Regions from separate parts of the Homo sapiens genome. Here regions 2, 3, 4, 5 and 6 are each linked to region 1. Evidence: promoter capture Hi-C in 16 types of primary human blood cells and fetal thymus (Javierre and others, 2016). All regions are on one chromosome and are shown on one strand. Each heading gives the region's core, a stretch centred on a gene start or on the middle of the fragment in contact. The rest is flanking DNA. Distances are from core to core; before and after follow the strand shown.

The links. The method cuts DNA at HindIII sites, captures the fragments that hold promoters and counts their contacts. A CHiCAGO score of 5 or more calls a contact.
Region 2: a fragment that was not itself captured here is called in contact with the fragment with the promoter of SAMD13 in region 1 in 4 of 17 cell types (fetal thymus, M2 macrophages, M0 macrophages and 1 more); the score reaches 7.5 in fetal thymus.
Region 3: a contact is called between a fragment that was not itself captured here and the fragment with the promoter of SAMD13 in region 1, in 7 of 17 cell types (fetal thymus, M1 macrophages, M2 macrophages and 4 more). The highest score is 9.4, in fetal thymus.
Region 4: a fragment that was not itself captured here is called in contact with the fragment with the promoter of SAMD13 in region 1 in 1 of 17 cell types (fetal thymus); the score reaches 6.3 in fetal thymus.
Region 5: a fragment that was not itself captured here is called in contact with the fragment with the promoter of SAMD13 in region 1 in 1 of 17 cell types (erythroblasts); the score reaches 6.9 in erythroblasts.
Region 6: a contact is called between the fragment with the promoter of TTLL7 here and the fragment with the promoter of SAMD13 in region 1, in 1 of 17 cell types (erythroblasts). The highest score is 5.3, in erythroblasts.

The regions. Positions count from the first base shown.
Region 1 is chr1:84,300,003-84,303,346 of GRCh38, forward strand. It overlaps SAMD13 (sterile alpha motif domain containing 13), which reads left to right and starts at 1,706. Exons shown (of 4, transcript NM_001134663.2): 1 at 1,706-1,799; 2 at 3,201-3,285. The coding sequence starts at 3,233. The HindIII fragment of the contact is 6,789 bases long and covers 1-2,711 here.
Region 2 is chr1:84,772,732-84,776,075 of GRCh38, forward strand. No RefSeq gene overlaps it. Among named protein-coding and RNA genes, the nearest start is that of SSX2IP, 84 kb to the left of the region's middle. RefSeq lists an enhancer at 2,129-2,628. The HindIII fragment of the contact is 3,509 bases long and covers 1-3,230 here.
Region 3 is chr1:84,753,210-84,756,553 of GRCh38, forward strand. No RefSeq gene overlaps it. Among named protein-coding and RNA genes, the nearest start is that of SSX2IP, 64 kb to the left of the region's middle. RefSeq lists a silencer at 436-485. The HindIII fragment of the contact is 1,543 bases long and covers 845-2,387 here.
Region 4 is chr1:84,691,477-84,694,820 of GRCh38, forward strand. No RefSeq gene overlaps it. Among named protein-coding and RNA genes, the nearest start is that of SSX2IP, 2.7 kb to the left of the region's middle. The HindIII fragment of the contact is 288 bases long and covers 1,489-1,776 here.
Region 5 is chr1:83,917,446-83,920,789 of GRCh38, forward strand. It overlaps TTLL7 (tubulin tyrosine ligase like 7), which reads right to left. Exons shown (of 21, transcript NM_024686.6): 13 at 2,254-2,389; 14 at 159-245. Among named protein-coding and RNA genes, the nearest start is that of LINC01725, 58 kb to the left of the region's middle. The HindIII fragment of the contact is 834 bases long and covers 1,297-2,130 here.
Region 6 is chr1:83,997,342-84,000,685 of GRCh38, forward strand. TTLL7 (tubulin tyrosine ligase like 7) reads right to left here and starts at 1,791. Exons shown (of 21, transcript NM_024686.6): 1 at 1,590-1,791. It overlaps LOC124904205 (a long non-coding RNA gene), which reads left to right and starts at 1,947. Exons shown (of 2, transcript XR_007066195.1): 1 at 1,947-2,365. RefSeq lists silencers at 1,451-1,580, 1,591-1,690. The HindIII fragment of the contact is 3,041 bases long and covers 580-3,344 here.

The sequences.
Region 1 (3,344 bases), core at 456-2,955:
AGTGGAGAGCTGAACATGCTTTTGTTCTGAGCAGCACTGTCAGGACAACCCCAGCTCCCCAAGACACAGAACTCCCAGTCCAACTCGCTTCCAATTTGGATTTACTGGGAGAATAGTTCAGGAATTTCAGATCAAGTCCAAAAGCGTTAAGGAATCTGTTAGTGAAAGAGCTCTTTATCTACATAAAAGTCCATCATTTTGAGATCAGCACTGGTGAAAGATCCACATGCCTGACCCATGCTCAAAAAATACTGCTCAAAAATATTTAATTGGTTCCTAGATTACTATTGTTTGCCTTTTCAAGGGAGCAATGGCAAATATTTGAAATCTTTCTTGGCACTGATCTTCAAGGAAGTCAAAAATTTCTAATATAATTCCTGGAATAAGTAAAGAACAAATTTTTTGACCTTGAAATTCAGGTTCCAAATTTAGATCAAAGGTAATCTCCTAATGTCCTAAAAGATTATTTTTAAAAAGGGAAGCAGGCAGCTTTTTCCTCAGATTCTACCTGAATTCTACAGGATATTACAGCAAGTGATAACTTTTTCCAGGATCTTTCTGGGGAACCTGTGTTCTGTGCCCTGTCTTGAGTGGTTTTGTTGACCATCTTGACCTAAAAGTGTCCAAATGTTGATTGATGTTTATTTCAATGAAGAGGCAACCATGTATGTTTTCTGTGTATGTGCAGAACATTAATGGGATGAGATTATTCTCCTGGAAAAGTGGTTTAAGCCAAGCAAGGGAACTGTGAGAATGACCAGGGTAACTTAAACAAAAGATCTTGCCCAGCCTCTCTGCTCCACCTCCCAGTTTTCTGATTTGGTATTTAGGATGATGGCGGGAGAGACTATGAATTTTGGGGTGGGCATAATGTCTTTCTATTCATATGTAACTAATATAGTACCGGGTACTCATAGATTGTAAGTGTTGGTTAAATTTCTTGAATTATGCTTTTTGTCCAACTGGGATAAACAGTTAAAATTAAACCTCCCAGAACTAATTGTTTTCGTTTTGTAGAATAAGGTTTTGTTTGTTTCAGTTTGAATTTTTGCTGGCTTCATTTGGCAGGATAAATGCCAAAATAAAAGAATGTGGGCGTTTTCAGGAGATCTGGTCATCTATTTTGCATCCTTTCCGAAATATGTTACTTCCTGCATAATGAAGTAAAAGGATTTGCTGCTGGGCAGTGCTTTCCTTATTCTCACAAAGAGATTACTTAAAAGCCAGCCCTGGGAACTTTGTCCATGAATCTCTATTAGGAAAAAAAGAGTAACATGGGACTGCAGCTTCCGAGTGTTCTCTGGTTATAGCCCATAAGCACTGGCTTCTCACTCTTATTTTTCCCTCTGGGGAGAAAAGGAAATAGTTTGAAACATGACATTCATGCTCAGAACAACAGCTAAGACCTATCATGCAGCAACAATGAAGGGGAGGGAGAAAATAAGAAGCTATTGAGACAGCTTGTTTTTCTTTGTACAAGACAGGTGCAGGGAGAATTCTGCAGGTTTTGGACTCCTTACTCATTTCTTGCACTAATTGTGCTGAAGGTAGTTAGCAAAAGTGAACAGGCACACTGTAGCTTTAAAAAGTCAGCCATGAACCAGAAGGCAGTTGGTGCAGCTTGTGTGTGATTCCTAACGTCATGTTGGCTGAGAGCCAGCCTGGTTTTATTTCACTGTGTCAAATTGTACCTCCTTATTGAATTCCTTTGCCAGCCTACTTTGTGAAAGAAAACATTGGGGTTTCTTTGGCTGTTCTTGATAAGCCTATAAAAAATGATATTTTTTAGTTGCTTATAGGTAGGTTTTCTTTTTACTCTTCCACAGAAAAGAAAATAATAGTAATAATAATAAGACAATGTAGTGTGGTGTTGCAGAGTATCATTGTGAGTGTTTTGTTTTGTTTTCTGAGATGCTTAGAAAATGGTGAATGTGTAACAGTTTCCAACTGAAGTGAAATCATATTCTGTTAGCATGGAGCAGCAGCACTATCTTCCTGTCTACTCTCTAACGGTGTGTGAATGTATGCTAATATCTATATATATATATTAAATGTTGGATTTCTCTATCAATGATCTAAGTGGTTTGCAGCTGGAAGTTTGTGTGTATGTGTGTGTTTCAGGAGTGAAAATTATCCCACACTTACAGTGTTATTTGTTAATCATCTACTTCTCTAACAGTGATAAAATCTTGCGAATATACTAAATGATGCACTTGCCATGTCAGAGTAATCCCTAGAGAAGGAGTGCCGAAGTATAAAGTGATTTGAGTGGAAATGTATTTAATTTATGGCTTCAGCTGAATAAGAGCAAACACGTTTCGGGACTGTTTCTTCCTTTTTTTTTTTTTTTTTTCTTAAAGCAGTTTTGTTCGTAGCTTTTTCATTTTGCTAATTGCATATTAATTGTGGAAGGCTTTTAATTTTCCACAGCCCTCATCCTACTAAACAAAAAGACAGAGTGATGGATGCTACAATATCTCCTTAAATGTTTTGATGATTTTTCATAAATCTAATGAGTTACCTACTCTTTCTTACACATACACACACACACACACACACACACACACACACACACCAGCACCACCTTTCTGTGCTAAGGGCTATCTGGCATTTTTTGTGAGCTTCCTGCTTTACCACAGCATGGCCATCTCACAGACGGGTTTTTGAGGCTTTCGTTGAGAATGTGAGGTAGGGGAATACTTGCTGACAAAAGCTTTAAGTGTCCTTCTGCATTGCAATGAAAAAATCTAGGAGCAAGGGGGAGTGGACAAAAAAAAAACCAAACACAATAAGAAAAAACAAATCAAAGCCCATAATGGGAGGGGGGCAGGAAAAGGGGGATTGTTTTTCTCTACTTTGACTCATTTATGAGTTGCAGTGTCTTAAGTGAGAGCTAGGCACCCAGAAGAAGCTGTGCCAGTTCACACAGCACTTGTTTTCAACGAGGATTCAATTTCATTTGCAAATGCTTATTGTCAAGGCAGGGAGTGCCAGTACAGATGAAAGCACCCCAATCCGTCTCCTCCAGTTCTTTAGGTTTAATCACATCTCTCCAATCGCCGAGGGAACTGGAGATTTAAACAAACATACGTGAACTGGTGTGAAGCTGTAAAAGGGACCATTATGTTTCCGATTCAGAATATATATTCTTCTCTCACTTTCTAAGAATTAAACACAAGCTTTTCTCCCTTATTGATTAGTTGCTGAAGTAAAGGAACCCTGCAGCCTTCCCATGCTATCTGTTGACATGGAAAACAAGGAAAATGGCTCTGTCGGTGTAAAAAAGTAAGTGAAGCTGGCTTCTGAGTTCTGCTTCTGCAAACAACAGAGGGACTTAGTTTCTA
Region 2 (3,344 bases), core at 226-2,725, 470 kb after region 1:
TGGGCATGTGGTTACAAAGCCAGGTTCCTGATGTCAAGAACACCCAGCAAGGTGCCCTGATAAATACCACCCAGAAGAGATGTGTTTGGGGTACTCTCTCTGTATGCTGATCTGTTACACACTGATCCTTAACGCTTTCAGCTGCTCCCTGGTTAACAGTCATTAGGCAGGCATGCAGCACTGTCATCCTGGGCCTCAGCCCTGCTGTCAGAACCCTCCTCCAGATACCTGAAGCAAAAAGAGGCAGGGGACCCCTTAGGTGTACTGCTGATTTGGAGAAATCCTTCATCCGACGGAAGGTCTTTCTAGGTTCCTCCCCTGACACTCCTATCTAAATAAAAACTACTTCTGAAGCCTGCATGACCCTTAGAGTTGGAATCATCTGAGCTGTGGAGCACTTACCCAACATATCCTGGGATTTGTCAAATGTTGCCGGTGATTCCAGAATTGCAGCTGACTACCTAATAGCAGACATCATGTCACTCCGCTCATGGTGACTGCTGTTAATCTGGATCTGGAAGTTCCATGTCGTTTGCTTTTGGCTTCTATGTCCTGGCGAGGCAAGTACAGGCAGCACTGTTGGTGCCCATTGTACGGGCAAGAAAACCAAGGTTTGAAAACAGGTTCGGTGACTCCCCACATAACCAAAGGGAGTGGTGGAGTTACAATAACATGAAGGAACTCTGACTCCCTTGTCCAATCACGCAGGGTTTAGTCATTTGTTTTTATGATCTCAATGAGGGGCCTTTGGCTCATAGTTCATTAATTTTCATCACAAACACTATTGAAAACCATTAATTGCCTGTGCTTTAAATAGCAGTGTGGAGTTTTTTCCTTGCCTAGCAAGACAATGGGTGTCAGTGGGTAGAAGGAGCACTGGGCTGGGGACCAAAAATCCTGGACTCTTGTTTGACAAGGTCACCACCAAACTGAGGGGCCTGGGAAGTCACAACCACTGAGGCCTCCCTCTCCCCATCTAGGAAGCGAAGAGGGCAGGAGTAAGGTACCTTCCCTCCCAGAACTCCATATGTGAAAGAAAGGGCATTTCTGATTTAGGGTATGTTTCACTTTCTCTAACCTTGGATCTGTCCCAGTAAAATGATTAAGCGAGGATATCTGTCTTTGCCAAAGTATGACTTACCTGGTCAGTCCAGATTGTTCAGGTGGGCTTATTGCTTTCTTGATTTGTAACCTTTTGTTTTCCAGTGACCTGGACTGTTTTTGGTATAGAATTTCATTCCCAGGTGATAAATTCCTTTAGGGAAGTGATAGCAAACAGGTTTAATCTTGAGGGCCCTTCAAATCAGTGAGCAGTGGCTGTCGGGAGCTCTGTGTTAATGTCTCTGAGGCCATGCTGTAAGGCGCCATGGGAACATGATTGATTAGCCATGTCTGCTGTGGGCAGGGGCTGGGGAATGCAGAGGGGAAGGGCTGTATCTGGGATAGCACTGTGGAATTGGAGCAAGGGAAGCCATGCCGAGTGAAAAGGCACAGAGCTGCTTAGAAGCAGAGCAGGGATAGGAATCCACACCTCCTCCCTTCCAATTCAGTGGCCTCCCACACAAGACTTCCTCTTTATTTGGTGTGATGGGCAATCAGGTGCTTAGAAGATACTTTCCGATGATGAGGATGAAACTGATGGTCTGGCAGCAGCTTTCTGCCTGCTCTCTCAGCAATGTGTAAACCCACACATGTGTTTTTCCCTTTCTGAGACACAGAAAGGCTCAACCTTTGACAAGAGATTGTCCAGGAAACATCAGTAAACACACCAAATGCCTACATTCCCATTAAAACATGCCTATCTCCTTCTAGGCAGTTCCAAGCGAGACTTCTAAGAGGTCTGCCTTGCACAACTCACAGGCAGCAGCTGTGAGGAGGAGAGGTGCACCCCAGGCTGTGGGTGGGAGGACAGAGGGAATGGGGAGGCAGGAACAATGGACCAGCCTCCTTGGCCTCACAGGAGGCGTCTGAATGAACGATGATGGCTCTTGGCCTTCCAAATGGCAAAGACACATTCCCAGAGAGGCCGGCTGTGGAGGGCTCCTGCCCAGATGGACTCGCTGTACTGTGAAGGAGCATTCTGTGTTCCCTAACTGGCAGCGGCTGCCCAGCCCATCAGCTTGCCTGACTGCACACCAAGGGCCCTGACGGCTTTCTCATGGGGCACCCCGGGGCTTCTGCCCCAAGCAGATGCTGGGCTTTATGTTCCCACAGAGAAGGCTTGCCCGTGGCGGTCCATCCATCTTCCTCTCCTTCATCTGAGAGGCAGTGTGGCCTGCCCTGAGGGTCTGCAGGGAGCGCTCTCACCAGGCCTGGGAGGATGCTGCCAGGGAGGAGAGTGCCCTGGAGCCTGAATGCCTCTTTTGTTTGCAATGAAATAAAATCTGCCCTTTTAAAAAGCATCCACGCTGCCAAAATCCCAGGTAAAGGGGGTGTGGTTGACTTGCTGCTAGGGAGGAATTCCTTAAGCTCTGCAGGCTATACACCCTCCACAGGAAAGGCCTGGGCCTGGCTGTTGATGATGATGGGATTTCTCCCCCAACACATGCACCTCCCTTGGCTGGCAGGCAACTCAGGAGTGAGGAATGACCAAAGCCAATTCCCAGAGCAGCGGAGGAGCACGGTTCACCTTCCAGTCAGTGCCTCAGGGCAAGCCCTTTCCATCCTCTCCATAGCGCCACCTCTCAGCGGGAGAAATGCTTGGTTCACACACAGGGTCCACCCTGCTCCCACCTGGCTCTTTGAGCTAACGAAGTATCACCCTTTACAGGTCCTGGTTCTGATGCACCAAGATGTCTGATAATAATAAAAAAAAAAAGCCCAGTAGTTACTCACACTCCAAGGTGCCTGGGCTTTCTTCTGGGAGGTTGCTCCCTTCTTTGCGGCCATCACCACACATTCCTCTAGTAAGGAAACCCCAAGAGGCCGGATGTCTGCAGCACATGAGCTGTGTGTATTCCCACACCATGATTATTGCCAAGAGGTTAGAAACTGAACATGATTTGGGTCCTGAGGGGCCTTAAATCACTGTCAAATGGGAATTTGCTATAAACCAGCTGAGACCAGGGACTAAGTTCCTGTCTCCAAGAACTCCACGAAGGACCCTGCAAGAGAAGAGAGCACATTCCATTGTTTAGACTAAGCTGAATCCCAACTACTCAAGGCATCCTGGCCTTTGGGATTGGATAAGGTAAGTTTTGTAAGGATTCCTGACCCAAGCTGTCATGTCAAGCTTCTTTACCCATCTGGCCATATTTCATGTTCGGATCCATCACGCAGTTCTCTGCATTTTATTGACAATGCACAGGCCGTTTCCTGTGTGTAACTCCTTGCCACCCTCAGGA
Region 3 (3,344 bases), core at 366-2,865, 450 kb after region 1:
AGAAGCGTGACCCTGGCCTAAAGGTTTCTGCATGATCCGGTCCCTACCTGCTCATCCCTGGCCACAACCTCTTCCCTCATTGTGCAGCAGCCCTGGTGGGCTTCGCTGTCCCTCTTCTTCGTACACTCTTCACCTATCCCTTCCAGGTCCACGGCCCTTCTTATCCTTCAGGTCTCAGCCTAATAAGTCATCAGACAGGTCTTCTCTGACGACTTTGCAAAAAAGCTGTTGCCCACCTTAGTCTCCATCCTAGGAGTCTGATCTTTTCCTTCATAGACCTAATCACAAAGTGTAATTATTTCATTTGTTTGGTTGTCTCTCTTGCTAGACTGTGAACTCCACAAACTGTTCACCAGCCTATCCCCAGAGACTCGCATGGTTTCTGGCACATGGCAGACACTATAAATACATTTTGAATAAATGCATGTTAGGGCGGCTCACAGAAAGCATCTACTTGAAAGGGAGGACATCTCACCAGCGGGGGACAGCGCTGCAGAACCCAGCAGCGGAACAACAGCGACACCAAGTGGCCAGTCCGCATTACCCACAGCAGCTGTTCCTTGCCAGAAATCTCAGGCCTTGGAAGGCTGATGCTTGTAATTTAATGTGGATACTAATCCATTAAGCTTGTTTATTCATTTCCTTAATTTAAAAAAAATCTAGAAACTGCCCTCAAATATCTCCCACTATAGAGTAGGACACTTGAAAGCATGTGGCCACTAGCTAGACAGACTTTAGGAGTTGCTATGGTAACTTTTCCCTTTTTTGCTAACCATTTGGAAACCTTACATTTTTCAAATCTGCATGCTTTGAAAAGGCCTGCTTGATTCTACTTTGTTTTTCAAGCTTTGCTTTGATTTACTGTATTTAATTTGCTTCACCTTCTAATTTGTTAAATGACATGTTATTAAAATTCCCCAGGGGGCCAGCAGGAATCTGTGCCGCTGAGAGACAGCATGCATTCTGGAAGTCGGTGATTCACATCTGAGCACTCAGAGGAGATTTTGGAAACCCATTAGGTTAGCAGAGCCGCTCTGGGCAGAATCAGCGCTGGCAGGGACGCTGCATTTGACAACTCAAGTCTTTAGGTGATGCTGAAAAGCCTGCCCTAGCTTCTCATTTCCTCCGTCCCCCAGCGAATCGTTCTTTGCTGCTGCTGTCCTCGGTGTGAAAAGGTGACCCCCCCACTGCCCATCGCACCTGCTTGCTATCTCTCGTCGGTCACCCCCTACAAGACCGGAAAACAGGTCTAAAAAAGCCAGAGCGTTCCGCGCTCAATTACAATGACGCTAAAATGCATCCTGAGGCCTGTCCATCGCGGATTTGAGAAGAGCCGCAGCAGCAGAACACGCCATTAGGCGATAATGGCCCGGGCCCGCTTCAGTCATAGGGCCGGGAAATGAGGGTGATTTAGTGACGCTGCCAATGCCCGACACCATCGCCGCGGTAGGCAAATGGCAGCAAATGGAGGTGTTAAGTAAAGGAAGTGCAGACAAACCATGGTTGCAGAAAGGCTCCTAATATTGATAGAGCTAACCCAGGAGGAAAGCTGGGGTAAAATTTCTTTACATTGCGAGAAAAAATAGATCCCAGCGCTCTCCTAAACATTATTATTTGCTTTAGGGTCCATCTTGTCCTTCATATGAAAATGGAGACAATTTCTCTCAGCGAAGACCGAAGCCCCGGTGCCCATTTTGCTAGCGGCATGTGCTTCCACTCCACTCCGCACCCCGCTCATTTTATTTTTAAAAAATAATAAATATGTGTTCATTGTTTAATCAGATGCATGTCCCTTATGTAAGAAAAAAGGTCATATGACAGGGAACTGTGAAAGTATGAAAGTGAAAGTCGTGTGTGTGTGTGAAATACACATACACATTTATAAATATATGTGTATATATACATCTGTACACATACATGTATACAATTTAGGCGTAAAATTCCACTTAATGATGCAATTATCTCGTGCTATTTCTGGAGTGCAGTCTTGACTGTTCTTTCGACTTTGGTCCAGTTTGAGTCTCAGGCACACAACTTTTTGGTCTGTACCGCTTTGGCCTGTCCCAGAATCTGACCTCCTCCCACCCCCGCAGCACCTTCCGCTGGCCTCCCTACACCTCATCCCCTGGGCTCTGCCTGTTGGATCTGTGCATCGCGAATGGGCTGTCTGGATTTTCTTCATTCCTGCCGCCCTTTGGTTTTCTTGAAAAGCACAGCTTTGACAGTGACCACATGCTCCCAAAATCATTTCACCCGAGGAAAATCCACCCCTTCTTTTACCCCACCCACTGTCACAAAAGTCTCCAGCAGCTTCCATGATGTCTCCTTATCTTTGGGTGGGACACAAAATTCCTAGTGTGTCTTCCACCCGCAAACTCTTTTGGCCAAGCTTCTTGTCATCTTGCTGCCTTAACACTTGGGCTTGGCTCTTCCAGCCCTAGGGTTTCACAAATTTGGTTAAGTCCAGAGCACATTCATGTGTACGTATGCAATCTATCTGGTTGGCGTTTTGTGTTTATTACATGACGATGGTCATTTTCCTCGAGAATAAGGAAGAAATGGACCATCGTTGCAAAGCTTGCACAGTAGCTTCACAATGAAATTATTTTGCCATTTGCTTCTAAGTAGAATTGTAATGTTGGCTTCTAGGTGCACCTCCCACTTCCTCCTTCATTTTTACCTATAATTTCTTTAGCATCGATTGAGAAAGTGTTTATTCAGGGCATAACCCTGTGATAGGTACTGTGAGCGATATGAAAAAAGCCATGGGGCCAACTCTTTTAAAAAGGTGTTAATTGGATTTTTCCCATATAAAACCCCCCATAGCATTTTATTTCCTAACTCTGCTTCTCACCGTCAACTTCATTTGCCTATTTAATGCAATTTGCTTCTCATGATAAGATTCTATTAAGTGATTATTAAGACATTCTGAGTTACCTCAGCCAAGTACATCTATAATCATTACCTACCTCCTGGGGGTGATTTGAGGTGTAATTAGTTAAAGCTCACTGTTACCTCCCAACATCTGAACGACAAACAGAGACCACTTCTACACAGCCAGTCTGTGAGCCTGGTGCAGCCTGTTCACATTTACATAAATCCCATAGATCCAGGTTTCACGAGAGCCCATGTTGGGTCTGTAGAAATAGAGAGCATACTGAAAATTGCCTACCTCTATTTATATCAAATTGTACCCCTGAGGGTTAATTTCTTTTGGTTTCTAAGTGATATTATTTAATAGCCCTAACGTTAGTGTTAATAAAACAAACACAATAAACCTCCACTAAAAATTGAGATATGCTGGAACAAATCAGCCTAGCACGACCCTCAAACCTCTTATTCTT
Region 4 (3,344 bases), core at 383-2,882, 390 kb after region 1:
ATGCTAACACTGAAAAACAAGAGCGGGAGGAATGTCCACCTCCCAGTTTGCATGCACGTATCCCCAATCCTGGATGAAAGATCAGGGCCAGAAGAAGCACGCCACGGTGACAACTTCAGGGCCCAACGAAATCCTCCTCTTTTCCTTTGGCCAAGCAATCAGAGGCCCGTCTAGCTGCTGTTGAGCCCAGGTGGCGTTACCATTAACAGTTACATTTTTAAAAGGTTTGAACCAAGCTTAGTTGAGCTCTGGGAAGTTTAGCTCTGACCTCAGCAACCCCGGGAAAGGAATAAGATCTGCCTGAATAAACCAGCGGTCTCAATCTTTTGGTCTCAAGACCGCTTTCCACTTGTAAAATTATTGAGAGCCCCAAGAACTTTTCTTTATGTTGGTTACAGCTATTAATATTAAAACAGAAATTTAAAAATTGCTATTTTTTAAAATAATAATGAATAAAAATAAAAATGTCAAATAGCGCATTTTAATTAAAAATAACTATTTTCAAAAAATTAGTTAAAAGAATGGTGTTACTTTAAAATTTTGCCCATATCTTTAATGTCTTGCTTAATAGAAGGCATTTGGATTTTCATATCTGTTTGTGCATTCGATCTGTTGTGCTATTTCAGGTAGCGTCTGGAAAACTCTACTGTGCACTCATAATGAGAGGGAAAAAGGCAAATAATATCTTAGTATTATAACAAAAATAGTTTTGACTTTGCAGACTCCCTGGAAGGGTCTTGGAAACTTGCCGCCCCAAGGTTCAGCAGATCTTTGAAAACCACTGGTCTAAACCTCTTTGTACTCTGTCCCTCTTTGTTAACCAATAACTGGTTAAGGGGCTAAAAATATGACCTAATTCTGCTCAGTCCATAATGGGGAGTGGGGGATGAGGAGCTTCAGGGGAAGGATTTTATCCTGACAGACTAAGGACAAGTTTTTTCCTTCTTGCCTTGGACATCCTCCAGTAAGCCAGACATGTTTGGAGCTGTGGCAGCATATTCTGCAACCACGAGAGAAAAGCAAGAAAAATACATGCGTACCTCGTTTTATACTTCAATTTATTGCACTTTACAGGCACTGTATTTTTTTTTAATAAAGGTTTGTTGCTCAACCCTGCATTGAGCAAGTCTAGTGGCACCATTTTTTCTAAGAGCATGTGTTCACTTGGTGTCTCTGTCACATTTCGGTAATTTTTGAAATATTTCAGACTTTTCCATTAAATATGTTACGGTGATCTGTGATGTCACTATTGTATTATTTTGGGGGTGCCGCAAACTGCACCCTTATAAGACAGCCAATTCAATGTATATGTTGACTGCTCCACTGACTGGCTGATCATCTCTCTCCCTCTCCTTGGGCCTCCCTACTCCCTAAGACACAGCAATATTAAAATTAGGCCAATAAATAACCCTACAATGGCCTCTAAGTGTTCAAATGAAGGGAAGAGTCACATATCTCTCACTTTAAATCAAACGCTAGAAATGATTAAGCTTAGTGAGGAAGGCATCTTGAAAGCTGAGATAGGCAGAAAGCTAGACCTATTGTTCCAGTTAGCCAAGTTATAAATGCACAGAAAAAGTTCTTGAAGGAAATTAAAAGTCCTCCTCCCTTGAACACAGGCATGAAAAGAAAGTGAAACTGCCTTATTGCTGATAAGTAGAAAGTTTGAGTGGTCTGGATAAGAGATCAAACCAGCCACAGCATTCCTTTAAGCAAAAGCCTATCCAGAGCAAGGCCCTAATTCTTCATTTCTATGAAGGCTGAGAGAAATGAGGAAGCTTCATTTAAAAAGTTTGAGGCTAGCAGAGTTTGGTTCATGAGGTTTAAGGAAAGAAGCCATCTCCGTCACATGAAAGTGCCAAGTGAAGCAGCAAGTGCCGCTGTAGAAGCTGCAGCAATTTATCTAGAAGATCTGATTGATGAAGGTGGCTACACTAAACAGATTTTCAGTGTAGACCAAAAGAAAGCCTTCTATTAGAAGAATATGCCACATAGAACTTTTCTAGCTAAAGAGGAGAAGTCCCTGCCTGGCTTCAAAGGACAGGCTGACTCTTGTTAGGGGCTAATGCAACTGCTGACTTTTTATTTTTATTTTTTATTTTTTGACACAGGGTCTCAATGTGTTGCTCAGGCTGAAGTGCAGTGGTGCGATCACGGCTCACTGCAGCCTCAAGTGATCCTCAAGCAATCCTCCCACCTTAGCCTCCCAAGTAGCTGGGGCTACAGGCACACACCACCATGCCCAGCTAATTTTTGTATTTTTTGTAGAGACAGGGTTTTACCATGTTGCCCAGGCTGGTCTCAAACTCCTGAGCTCAAATGCTCCACCTCCCTCAGCCTCCCAAAGTGCTGTAAGCCACTATGCCCGGCTCCAGCTACTGACTTTAAGTTGGAGGTAATGCTCATTTGCCATTCCAAAGATCCTAGGGCCCTTAAGAAATATCTAAATTGACTTTGCCTGTGTTCTATCAATGGAACAACAAGGCCTGGCTGACAGCACATCTGTTCACAGCATGGTTAGTGAATATTTTAAGTCCACTGTTGAGACCTATGACTCAGAAAAAAAGATTACTTTCAAAATCTCACTGCTCATTAATAATGCACCTGGTTACCCAAGAGCTTTGCCTGCTAACACAAGATCTATTCTGCAGCCCATGGATAAAGGAGTAATTTTGGCTTTTAAGTCTTATTTGAGAAATACATTTCATAAGGCTGTATCTTCCATAGATAGTGATTCCTCTGATGGAACTGGGCAAAGTAAATTGAAAACCTGGAAAGGATTCACCATTCTAGATGCCATTGAGAACATTCATGGGCACGGAAGGAGGTCAAAATATATCAACATTAAGAGGAGTTTGGAAGAAGTTGATTAAAACCCTCATATATGACTTTGAGGCGTTCAAGACTTCAGTGGAAGAAGTAACTGGAGATGTGGTAGACATAGCAATAAAACTAGAACTAGAAGTGGAGCCTGAAGATGTGACTGAATTGCTTCAATCTCAGGATAAAACTGGAACAGATGAAGAGCTACTTCTTATGGATGAACAAAGAAAGTGGTATCTTGAGGGGGAATCTACTCCTGGTGAAGATGCTGTGAACGTTGTTCAAATGACAACAAAGGATTTAGAATATTCCATAAACTTAAACTGATAAGCAGCAGGGTTTCAGAAGATTAACTCCAATTTTGAAAGAAGCTCTACTGTGGGTAAAATGCTGTCAGACAACGTTGCATGATACAAAAATATTTTGTGAAAGGAAGAGTCACTCGATGTGGCAAACTTCATTGCATTATTTTAAGAAGTTGCCACAGCCACCCCAACCCTCCGCAGCTACCATCCTGATCA
Region 5 (3,344 bases), core at 464-2,963, 380 kb before region 1:
GAGTGTAAGGTATCATCATCTTCCAAACTTTACCTGCACTGGGCACACAGTCCCTGTGGTTCCTTTTTTAAAGCAGCACCAGTCTTTCTTATAGTGAGAAGTATCAAGGGCTAGTAGCATCTACTTTGATAAGTAAGGAAGGTAGAGATATACTGCACCTTTGGTCCTCGAGTCTTGGTAGTTTTTCCCATCAACTTTTCATCATCAATTTCACATTGCTCCAGAAGATCCAAAATATCTTCTTCCTTCAAAAAATATTCTAATTAAAATTACAACCACTAATGGACTCTAGAATTTTTCCAAGTTGATTAATCTCCACAAAATAATGCAGAGCAAGGATTCCTGAAATTATTTAGTGAAGATTGCTCAGAAAAAAGGAGAAATATTAAAGGGTCACAGCAAATTCTCTTGAAACTTTCACTAAAATCTGGCATTATAATTAATACATAGCCAAAATCTATTCTGTATTAATTATCCTAAACAAATGTATCTTTATAGTACAGTATAGTATTAAAATCTTAGAGTATAATACTTCAATAAATTAGCCCATTGGACACTAAAATTTCTGGAAAGTTCATGCTGTTTTCCAGATTTCAAGTTTATGAATCATTTCTATACAGATTAGTGCAAAATGATATTAAACCTCCAGACAGAAAACTGATAATTGGACTAACAGTTTCACTTAGAAACATTCTAATGTGAGTATTTGCTGACTGGGCACTATTTAATGAAACTCTTTCAAAATTTTAATGATTGCACAAAGTATTTTTAGAACTTTATAAAGGTTTTCATTCTATAGTCATCAAAGGTAGCAAAAAGCCACAAGTGCCCTAACACCTTTCCTGCGTTCTACTAGAGTCATATTCTGAATCAAAAGGAAATTTTGTAAAAGCATATACCCCAGTGGATATTAGGCAAGCCAGGACAATACGAGTATAATAGCTACACTGAAAGAGGTATAATCAACTGTATCATTTAGTTATTTAAGAAAGGATTCTAGAAAAGGTTTTTGAAGAAACTAGAAATCTCACTGTGCAGTAGAAATGTGTAAAGTAAGTTACTCTTTGTCCCAATCTAAGGAAATTTAGCTATTGAAATCCCAAAATACTCTTATTATACATTTTTTATTAAATAATAATCTTACAATGAATTCCATGGATAGCAGTACAATATAGCCAAAAAGAAACTCAAGGAGTTCTGCTTCTGTTTAGGAGAAATATAACAGATAATACTTTCATCATAACAGCCAGAAAAGGCCAGATAAACTAAACAATCATATTTTCTAAAACATCAGAAAGCTTTACTTTAGGTAAAAAGTAATGTAAAGAAACTAAATTCCAAAGAGGAACAAGTTCTTCCTAGGTGAGCAGAGATGAGTGGCCATTTTCTTCTTTGGGGTCATCTGTCATGTCTGGACATATGTAGGCAGAGATCAAGTCTAAAATAGAGAGCTCCTACTAGGATAAAAAGAATCTTCTTGAAATGCTCCCTTTTAGAATCCTGAGCTACTATATTGAGAGGTCTGACTACCCTGCTGAGAGACTGTGTAGGGAGAAAGAGATACCAGCCAGCTCCCAGATGTTTCAGCTATCTTATCTGACACACCAGACATGTGAGTGAAGCTACCCTGGATTTCTAGCCCCAGTTGGGCATTCAGATACATGCTACTATATGATTCACCCCAGGAAAGACAAGCGGAAGAACCACTCAGCTGTGCCCAGCCACGATTGCAGAGTAATGAGCAAATAAATGAAGTGGTTTGTTATGCTATAATAGAAAACTGCTAGACCTTTTACTATGGTGTACAGATTAGAGTGTGTGTGTGTGTGTGTGTGTGTGTGTGTGTGTTTCATTTACTTCCTCTCATATGCTAGATCTACATAGCATCAAGAAAAAGTATTATGTAATGTTTGTTATAATCCAAAAAATAAAAACGCTACAAACCACTAGGTTAATTCCATGGGTTTCTTTATCCAGTTACATATACACATCTATGTAAGAAGATACGTTATTATAATATATTGATATTACAACATAATATCACAATTCTCTACTCCATAATTTTTCTTGGTAGATATCTTATGAAGTAAGTTGGTTCATCATGAAATGTTACCAACTGTTAAAATAGAAAGCTTGGGGAAAGCATATCTTAAAAGTAAAATGTTTTTATATGTCGGACCAAGGTGGCTTGTCTGTAAAGACATATTGTTTAGCTTTATTCTTTTTTCTCTATATAAACATTCATTCTCTTACCTTCATCCTTTTCAAAGGATTATTCAACTCTCGCTGGAATGAAGCTGCTCTTCCTGAAAGGAAGGTCTGAAAGGCAACAGCTAACAAATTTTCATACTTTTCAAGTAATGCTTTATCTTCAGGAGGATAAATTCGTCTACAACAAAATCAGATAAACCAATTTTTTAAAAAGAAGCTGTCGTAGCTCAATAGTTAACATCAACTCCATAGACAATCCTTGACCATCTATTCTATACCAGTCACATTGCCAGGTATAAGCATTTCTATACTGATTAGTGCAAAATGATATTAAATATTAAACCTCCAGACAGAAAACTGATAACTGGCCTAATAGATTCACTTAGTAACTTTCTAATGTGAGTATTTGCTGACTGGGCACTAATTAATAAAATTCTTTCAAAACTTTAATGATTGCACAAGAGTATTTTTAGAACTTTATGAAGGTTTTCAGTCTATTCATTAATAGTGGCACAAATCCACAAACAAAGTTTATCTAGAGAATTAGCATTAAACAATGCAGTTCCAGAAGGTACAGTATAAGGGTTTAGTTGGGGGGAAATGGTTGGGGAAGAATGGTGATTGGGCAAATTGGAGAAATACTGAACTTTATAGGAGAGTGTTCAGGTAATAAGGGATACTGCAGGAGTGTTTTTACTTAGTGTGGTTACTGAAGTATACAAAAATGTAAGCAGTGGTTCTGATGATCTCTTTTGTAGTGGTGGAATTTGCCTCTCTAGTAGAGAGAAGTGGGTAGAGGTAGAGTGGGAGGAATGTGTTCTTATCACTACTGTTGATGGTGTTAAGGCCATGAAAGAACATCTTACCATGAGTGCAAGAACGCCCTCACACATTCCTTTATCCTGCTCAGGCAATGTCAAAAGTTGGAAAGTGGGCAATCTGTCCAAGAACACAATGAGCTGGGTGGGGTGGGGGGGTTTGAATCTGTCAAGGGTGATATTGTGGAAGGGTTCCAGTTTAACACAGCCCACATCCCTCTCCACTGTCTCATACCTAACTCCTTCAAACATTTTCATTATTTGCCTAGTTCCTGAAAAAGTACAGTAACCACCATGGATTGGCAGGAAGAATAC
Region 6 (3,344 bases), core at 541-3,040, 300 kb before region 1:
ATGAAAGCAAGTCAAAGGACCCATCAACGGGCGAAGAAAGACCTAGCATCCATTATTTTTACAGAAGGAGCATAGAAGGTCAATATAATTGTTGACTCTTAACGGCAGGGTAACAACAAACTAATTCAGTTTCCCACTATATAAGAACTACATTTTACTACAACACTCATATTTCTAAACTGACTAAGAGTCAAGGCTTGTCCAAATTCCATGGCTTACTGAGTGGTCTTGAACCTTCTCTGAATTTTGTTCCTTAGTCTGTAAAATGGAGTTATCACCTGTTATGCAATATCACAGAGTTGTAATGAATCAAGTAACATTATCTTAGTATGGGTTCACCTGTCACCCTATTGTGGGGTGCAGTTCAGTCGCACACCTCATGAACTAAGTAACTATTATTACTGTAAATGTCTCCCTAACATTTAAGACAGAAAAAGATTTCCAGAGTTCTTCTTACGTTTTTAATCGACTTCTCCAACACTTGAGCATCCACCAAATATCACTGCCAAAAATGTGCTGAACATCTCCTGTTATGACCTCACTCTCCTATGTAGTGTTGTTCACATATTTTTTGCCATAAGCTTTCTAAGAAAATAGATTATTTTTCACATGATTCAAAGCATCTTTCTTTCATATTGAAGGAGCAATAATTCCTTATGCAGAAAGTTTACAGGTTGTTGTTGCTGTTGTTTGAGATTACTCCTCAATTAATTAATTCTATGTTTAATATCTAATAGAGCATATATATGTACACTTGGACACACTCCATTAATACAGTGGAAAATCCATGGACTATAGAGTCAGGAAAACCTATATTCGAATTCCTGTTCTGTGACCTTGAGAATGTAATTTAACTTCCCTGCTCCTCAGTTTCCACATTTGGTTCTGGATTATGATGATTTAATAAAATACGATATATAAAAGTAAGTGCCTAGGCTATGAAGGTATTATTTCCTACCTCTCCTAAATCTTTTCTTTCTATGCCAGGATCAATCAAACCCACCCAGAATACAAGGCAACTTTCATAGGGTATCTTTTACATCAGTCGAGGGAACGCTGCGATGTGATATAAGTGGATGATGGCATGAGTCAGGCATCCAACAGAGCAAGATGTGGAGAAAGTGAGAGGTACCTACAAGGGCCCTAGACTTCACTCGCATGTGCGAAAAGGGCATTTTGATACCCTTTCAAGAATGCCCCGCATACTCGCGGAGGCTTATACCACGATGTGGGAAAACGACGGAATTACAGAATAAACCAGCAGGGAGCCTCCTCGTTCACCCAACCCGACCCCGCCCGCCCGAGTCTCCCATCTGGAGCCTAAAAACTGAGCTGAGATCACAGCAACTGACCCCGTCCCCTCCGCCCTCTCCCTCCCCCATTCTGCCCAAACCTCTCAGGGCACGAATGGTGCTGAATCATTTGCACGAACGCAGCAGCTCCCCGTTCCGCGGCTCCCAGCGGGGACGGTGTCCCCAGAGCAGTGACAGTCCGGGGATGGGGGCCCGGAAAGAGGGCCAGGGCGGAGCCTTTGGGGACGTGGGGACATGGAAGGGGGTCGGGGGAGGATGGCGGCAGCAGGTACTCACCCGGGTGAGGAAAGCCCAGCCCGGGTCCTCGCGTCCCCGCTGCAAGCGGTCCCCCAGGTGCTCCCGCGCCTCGCAGCTTCCCCGTGGGCGGCCGCCCCGACTCGGCAGCCTGCACTGGTGGTCCGGTGCTCTCCTCCGCCCGCCCACCGCCCGTGGCAGCCACGGCTCGGGACTCCGGTGCTCGACGCGGAGTGCCTGGAACAGCTGTCGCTGCCCAAGCGGGTGGCGGCTACCGACGGGCCAGACCATTCGCCTGCTGCGGCCGGGGGTGCACGACGTGCCGAGAGGCGCGGGCGCCGGGGGCGGCGACGGTTGGGAGGAACAAAGGACTCGGGGAATCCTCTGCCCCCTCGGAGTCAGGAGGTCCTGGGGACAGGAGGGATCAACGGAGGGGCCGCTGCCTCTTCTGGGGGTTTACTGAAGACACTGCTCGAGCTTTCCCGGGCCACACACACCCCCCCCCCGTTTGCCTTGGTCCCGCTCGGGGCTCCTTTAGAACGCGGCAAACAGAGGACTTAGCAACGCGAGCGCCTGGGCGGCGCCCCTCCTCAGAGATGCGAGAGGCGCTGGCCTGAGCGCCTCCGGCCACCTCCTTCTACCTCCGGGCCCTAGGCGCCCGATCCACCTGCCTATCTGACCACAGACATCTTCCCACAAAACAGTGGAGCTTTTTGAATCTTTGAAGAGAGTCTTCAGATCTTTTATCTAAGCATCTTTGTGAAGCAAAGAATAAACGGGTATCTGAGGCCAGCTCGAAAGTTAGGAAATAAAATCAGGTGGGGCCCCATCCCGTAGATGCTGAGGGACAGCTCTGACCTAGAGTTCCTGCTAAGCAAATGTTGAACCACGGCAGTTGTAAAAAAATGTAGATTTAGGAAGCCATTTCGAGATAAAGATTTACAGAAGATTGTTGCAGAAATTAAAGAATATTCGAGGTTCATTGTTCACCATTTTAGAGTTGCGTGTCTTGAAAACGGGAAGGCAATCATGTCTTCTCATAAAATGAATTGTATAGAACTGGAAGAAGTCCTAACACATGAATTCCTTAGACTTTTGTGGTCCCTGCTTCTGTCACGCTGGGTTCACACAGGTTCATTTCAGAGCATGGTGAAGATCAGGACAAGTGTACAGTTTTCCCTGTAGAAAAAAAGAAAAGATAGAACAGAATTGGCAACTACCTATAAAATGTGATTAAAGGTAGGAAAAAAAAAGGCCCTCCAAGTGCATCCCAAAAAATATAAAATTTCACAATTTAAAGTTTTGTCCTTCGTTGAGTAAATCAACATAAATTCAGCACTTTCTATAGACCACTGTGCTGAGAATAGTCTCATTTTCATTTCTTCATTTATTCTTCTAAAAACTCCTGTGAGATTGGTAACCTGCAATAGACCTCCATACAGCCTTGCCAGCATTGGGAACTGATCTGGTCAGTGAGGGCATCTTCTCATAAAGGACACTGGTGAGAAACTGGGCTCAGGGTTTGTCGTGCTGGGTTAGTCTCACGATCATAAGCGGCAGAGCAGACATTGCCACCTGGAGTTTTTGACTTGTTCCTTTCCCCTAGAATGCCTCTGAGAACGATATACATTAAACCGTGTCACATCTGTGATTGCAACTTGAATGTGAGTCTGTTTATCCTTCCTTTGTGAGAAGGGGTTTTAGAATGGAGAGGGGGCAGTTAGGTGTCCAGGGTAGGCATCACCCTGAGGCAAGAAGAGTGATCAGAAAGAAGAAGCTGGACTTCACCCAGAACTA